2 separate regions of the Homo sapiens genome follow, and region 1 is linked to region 2. The links are contacts of gene promoters, found by promoter capture Hi-C in human tissues and cell types (Jung and others, 2019). All regions are on one chromosome and are shown on one strand. The core of a region is centred on a gene start or on the middle of the fragment in contact, and the rest is flanking DNA. Distances in the headings are between cores, read along the strand shown. Region 1 overlaps MYO5A (myosin VA). Region 2 holds the start of MYO5C (myosin VC).

Region 1 (3,156 bases), core at 90-2,589, 190 kb after region 2:
AAACTGCAGAGAATGAAGATAAACCTTCCTTATACCACATAGAAAAATTAACTCAAAATGGACCAAAGACCTAAATGTTAAGAGCTAAAACTGTAAGACTCTTAGAAGAAAATACAGGAGGAAAACTTCATGATACTGAATTTGGCACTGATTTCTTGGAGCTGACACCAGGAGCACAGGCAATAAAAGAAAAAGGTAAATAAATTTAAAACCTCTCTGCATCGGCTGGGCGCGGTGGCTCATGCCTGTAATCCCAGCACTTTGGGAGGCCGGGGCGGGCGGATCACGAGGTCAGGAGATCAAGACCATCCTGATTAACACAGTGAAACCCCGTCTCTACTAAAAATACAAAAAATTAGCCGGGCGTGGTGGCACGCACCTGTAGTCCCAGCTACTCGGGAGGCGGAGGCAGGAGAACTGCTTGAACCCAGGAGGCAGAGGTTGCAGTGAGCCAAGATCGTGCCAGGGCACTCCAGCCTGGTGACAGAGCAAGACTTTGTCTAAAAAAAAAAAAAAAAACCAACCTCTGTGCATCAAAGGGCACAATCAACAGAGTGAAAAGGAAACCCACATAATGAAAGGAAATATTTGCAAATCATATATCTGATAAAAGATTCATACCCAGAATATATAAAGAATTCTACAACTCAGCTGTGCATGGTGGCTCACACCTGTAACCTCAGCACTTTGGGAGGCCAAGGCAGGAGGACTGCTTGAGCCCAGGAGTTCAAGACTAGCCTAGGCAACATAGTGAGACCTGTCTCTAAGTAAATTTAAAACAAAAATAAAAGAATTCTACAGCTGAACAGCAACAATGATGAACAACCTGATTTTAAAATGAGCAAAGACTTTGAATAGACGTTTCTCCAAACAAGATACACAAATGGCCAATAGGCACATGAAAAGATGCTGAACATCATTAATCATTAGGGAAATGCAAATCAAGCCTACAATGAGATACCATTTCACTCCTATTAGAATACCTACTATCAAAAAACTAGAAAATAACAAGAGTTGGACAGGATGTGGAGAAATTAGAACGATTGTGCCCTGGAGAAATTAGAACCTCTGCACCCTGGTAATGTAAAATGGTGCAGCCAGTACGGAAAACAGTATGGTGGTTCCTCAAAAAATTAAATATATAATTCCTATATAACCGAGGAATCCCACTTCTGGTTATATATCCAAAAGATTTGAAAGCAAGGTCTCAAAGAGATGCTTGTACACCCATGTTCACAGCAGCATTCTTCACAATAGCCAAAGGATGGAAGCAACCCATGTCCATCAATGGATGAATAGATTAAACAAAAATGTGGTGTATTTACTCAAAAGAATATTATTTGGCCTCAAAAGAGAAGGAAATTCTGAAAGATGTCACGACATGGATGAACCTTGAGGAAATTCTGAAAGATGTCACGACATGGATGAACCTTGAGGACATTACGCCATATGAAATAAGCCAGTCATGAAAAGACAAATACTATATGATTCCACTTATATAGGGTACCTAGAGTAGTCAGATTCATAGGGAGAGAAAGTAGAATAATGGTTGCCAGGGACTAGAGGGAGTGGGGAATAGGGAGTTATTGTTTAATGGGTACAGGGATATAGTTTTGCAAGATGAAGAGTTTTAGAGATTGGTTGTACAACAATATGTTGTTGTTGTTGTTGTTGTTTGAGACAGGGTCTCATTCTGTTGCCGAGGCTGGAGTGCAGTGGTGTGATGATCACAGCTCACTGCAACCTCAAACTCCTGGGCTCAAGCAATCCTCCCACCTCAGCCTCCCAAGTAGCTATAACTAGAGGTGCAGCCACCACATCCAGCTAATTTTTTTATTTTTTGTATAGACGGGGTCTCACTATGTTACCTAAGCTGGTCTTGAACTCCTGCGCTCAAGGGATCCTCCTGCCCCAGCCTCTCAAAGTGCTGGGATTATAGGTGTGAGCACCATGCCTGGCCTGGTTGTACAACAATATGAATGTACTTAACATTACTGACCTGTACACTTACACATGGTTAAGATGGTTAACTTACGTTATGTGTATTTTACAATTTAATTTTTTTAAATTTAAGTATACATTTACATTCTAAATATTTATTAAACGCCCAACCATCCAGCTGTTTCAAAAAAGGCACATCTCCAAAGATGACCTACGATGATAACTACATTGGGCCTTGGCTGTTGGATTATTCCTACCAAGTTGAATTAAGAGGGACTTAAGTAACTCATTAATTAGAACTTCATTACTAAGGTACTGAAGGATTTCATTGCATAGAAAATTAATGCATGTGGGGGTCTACAATTTTTAGTAGGGTTCTGATGTTTTCTATTAATATTTTGTTTTTATAGAGTCTTTAAAAAATAAGAAAACCCCACATTTCCACCTACATCATAATATCTAGTCACAATGACACTGTACCAACTCTAGATAATTAAAGCCAGCTTTTGCTCAGAGATCCCCGCCAGGGTTACCTCCTGAAAAGCAAGTAATGAACACTAAGCCATGTATTTTTTATTGGATTCTCTAAAGTAACATGAGTCAGGCTCCAAGTGTCAGAAGATCTGTCTCATGCTAACAAAAACAAAGATATTTACTGTTTAATCCCCTTTTATCCAAGTACATCAATGTTCTTGGCAAACATTAATCAAACGGAAATTAAGGCATATCCTCAGGATATATGAAGGCATTGGGCTTTCAAAAACTCATACACGAAGCATCTAGATCCAACTACTAATTTACAAAGCAACACATTGAACTACACCATGGCAACATAATTAGCAAAAACTGGACTGCGGGAAACTATGCAGGAAAAATGATCCAGTTTTTTCAACAAAATAAATTTCAAGGAAAAAAGAAAAGAAAAAGAGATAGAGTACGAACCTATAGCTTGAGACTTACAATAAGTGTCAACCAGTTGCAATACCTGAACCTTGATTAGAACAAAGTAGACAAAAAGAATATGACATTTATGAGACAATAGGAAATGCAAACACTGGCTTGATATTTGATAATATTAAGGAATTATAAACATTTTTAGGTGTCACAATGGTTTTGTGGTCATACATAGATATATAGATTTTTTTAAGTGCTTATGTTAGAGATAATCTGTCAGGGATCCCCAGACCACACCCAGGTTTGGTGATTTGGTAGGAG
Region 2 (2,920 bases), core at 390-2,889:
AGGGGTGCTTGCACCTGTGTGTTTCTGCTTCTGGAAATACTGTCACCTCAAATAGGTTCAGCAGCAGCATTTTTCTCTGTCCTCCAAAGTATCGTCGAAGACTAGTCCAAGACTTTTCTTTCACTTCCAGTAAACTGAAGGCTGAAGAAGCGCTGTTGGCTGTCTGAGGGCTCACAGTCTCACTGGTGAAAATATTCTAGAACAAAACTAGGGCAATTCAAACACTGTCCATTTAGAACTCCAGTTAATGGAGATGCAATAGAGGAGAAACTACAGTTCGGTTGCTTTGTGTCCGGACTGTTACTAAGTAATCAAAGTAGAAGAAAAACGTTTGCTTAAACCATTGAAACATGATTTTTTAAATAACTATCTTTTCTATCTACAGCAAAAGCATCTTTTAAAGTAGAAAGCTAGAGCATGTGTCCGGGGAAATGGATGGATTCTAGTTCCACTCGTCTGAATACTGAGGTCTCTAGATTTCCCCAACTGGTGTATAGGAGGATCAGGCTTTATGGCTATTCAAATGGATTTTTTTTTTCAAAAGTGCTAACACTGTCACACTCTTTATCCAAATAATTACCCAAGCCCATCTCAGAGGGTTTGGGACATATGTGGGAACGCTGCCCTTCCGAGGTAAGAGGTGGAGCCCCAGCCAGCAGAAAGGAAGCTTCTGAGGAATGCTCTAGTGTTTCCCAGAGTCAGGGTATATGAAAGGCGCTTTAGAAACTGTGGTGTTTGTACTGTTGCTAACAGTACAGATGTTAGGCAAAGAGCCTACGACTGCACCTCGTGGCCCCTGGGCTCCCCAAGCGCTTGGTGCCACTGCAGTGCCCTCAAGCCTGTGACCCAGGCTGCTTCAGCTTCTGATGAGCCTACATGCACGTTCACGCACTTTGAAGACACAGAATTCTAGAAAGCAGCCCGAACACTGCGGCCATAAGCTTCTATGCCAGCTCGTTCAAGGGGGTCCCAGGAGGGGCCAGGAGACTGGCCGGCGTCTCAGCTTCCTACGTCCGCATGGGCAACTCTGATTCCACCCGTGGTGTGGTAGGAAGGGACCGAGGCGCTCCAGTCCCGGGAGATGGGGACGCACGCGCGACCCCTGGGCACTGGGGATTCTAGGCCCCGAGGCCGGAGCGGCGGAGGGGGCGGCCCCTCCCACAGGGTCTTCCCACCCACAGGGCACCCAGGCGCAGCGGAGCCAGGAGGGGGCTTACCCGCGGGCAGGGACGGAGCACGCCGGGGCCCTGGAGGGGCGACGCTCGCTCGTGTCCCCGGTCCCCGTGGCCCCTCCGCGGCGCCTCCGCGGCCCCCAGCGCGCGCCCGCCCGCCCTGCCGTGTCAGGTGCGCAGGTGTGGCAGGTGTGGCCCGGGCGCCAGGTCGAGTCAGCGTTAGCAGGGCCGGCTCCCCCACAGCGCTCCCAGGAGCCCAGCGGACCCTCCTACCTGCGTGTACAGCTCGGCCACCGCCATGGGCAGGAGGGGCCGGGGCCAGGCCGGGGCTGCCGAACGTGCGAGGCTCGGGGGCTGGGCCTGCGCCGCAGAGGCCGGGCGCAGGAGAGACCGCCGCGGAAATCACCGCCGGGCCATCTTGCCCAAAGTTTTCCAACGGCCTCCTGTTCCCGTTCCCGAGTTGGCGGCGAGGGGAGGGGGCAGCGGCGGGATTGGTCCCTCCAAGCTTGGCCCGGCTAGTCGGCGCTGCCATTGGCCGGGGCCGGGCGGCTGCACCTGGCGGGAGCGCGGGTGGAGAAGGTTGGGGCCCGGGGCGCGCTGCCAGGCAGGAACAGATGCATCCGGAGGCTGCCCGGCCCGAGTGTTAGCTCCTCAAAGAGCAGAGGATACGACCATTTAAATGGAAGACCCAAGGGAATCAACGTACTGAACACAAAGAAATGTGTTAAGAGTCCAGCAAGGTCATCGTATTCAAAATCAAATACAAAAATAAGTAATGGTCCTTTATATGAGCATTGTCTATGCAATACAAGATATTTACAATATTAGTGAAAATATAAAGTATCCAGAGATTACACTCGCAAAAATGCCCTTGGCCTTTGTGGAGAAAATGTTTAAAATTCTCTTAAAGAGCTTAAAAGAAGGCCCAGGTAAACGGGAGACATGCCATTTTCCTGGCTGGGAATATTTAATATGGTCAAGGTGTCACTTCTACCCAAATCAATATATATGCCTAATATATTGGCGTCAGAATCCTACAGAACTTTTGGAGAATTGTACAATGATTCTATATTTCATATAGAATAAAAGCCCTGTATAACTAAGACAATTCTCAAAGAGGAGAGATTTGTCCTGCCATATATTTAGGGACATAACAAAGCAGTAGTCATTAAAACAGTGTGACACTTGCGTGAGAACGGATACGTGAGTAATGGAACATGCTGGAGCCCCCCAGCAGGGCCCTACATTATACGGTAGCCTTAAGGACCAGATAGGGAAATAAAATAATATTTATTAGATGGGCCCGTTATATGGAAAAACAATAAAAGCAGATCCGTGGCAAACACTGCATCCAAAAATAAGCTCCAGATGGATTCACGATTAAAACTTAAAACCGGGAAATTATTAGGAATAAAAGAGGGATAATATCTTTAAAATGTTGGGTTATAGTAGTTTCCATATAGAAGAATTGTTAATCGGTTAAAGAAAAGAAATCCAATTTTTAAAACTGACAAAAATTAATAGGCAATTCACAGATGGGGACACTTAAATGGCTTGTTAGCATACAAGGAGATGTCAACTTTAGCAGTAATCAGATAAATACAAATGAAAACAACAATGAGATATTGCTTTTTACCCATCATATTGGCAAAAACATTTAGGTTAGACAATCTCAGATACTGCCTAGGATGTGAGAAAATAAAAACTTGGCCGGGCGCGGTGGCTCACGCCTGTAATCCCAGCACTTT

The links. The method cuts DNA at HindIII sites, captures the fragments that hold promoters and counts their contacts. A contact is called where the count stands out against the background at its distance.
Region 1: a fragment that was not itself captured here is called in contact with the fragment with the promoter of MYO5C in region 2 in 1 of the 25 tissues and cell types used here (pancreas).

Annotation. Positions count from the first base shown.
Region 1 is chr15:52,489,060-52,492,215 of GRCh38, forward strand. The region is part of intron 1 of MYO5A (myosin VA); the gene reads right to left. Among named protein-coding and RNA genes, the nearest start is that of MYO5A, 38 kb to the right of the region's middle. The HindIII fragment of the contact is 5,770 bases long and covers 1-3,156 here.
Region 2 is chr15:52,294,165-52,297,084 of GRCh38, forward strand. It overlaps MYO5C (myosin VC), which reads right to left and starts at 1,640. Exons shown (of 41, transcript NM_018728.4): 1 at 1,446-1,640. The coding sequence starts at 1,472. LOC105370819 (a long non-coding RNA gene) reads left to right here and starts at 720. Exons shown (of 4, transcript XR_932250.3): 1 at 720-1,047. RefSeq lists a silencer at 1,304-1,463. The HindIII fragment of the contact is 3,447 bases long and covers 286-2,920 here.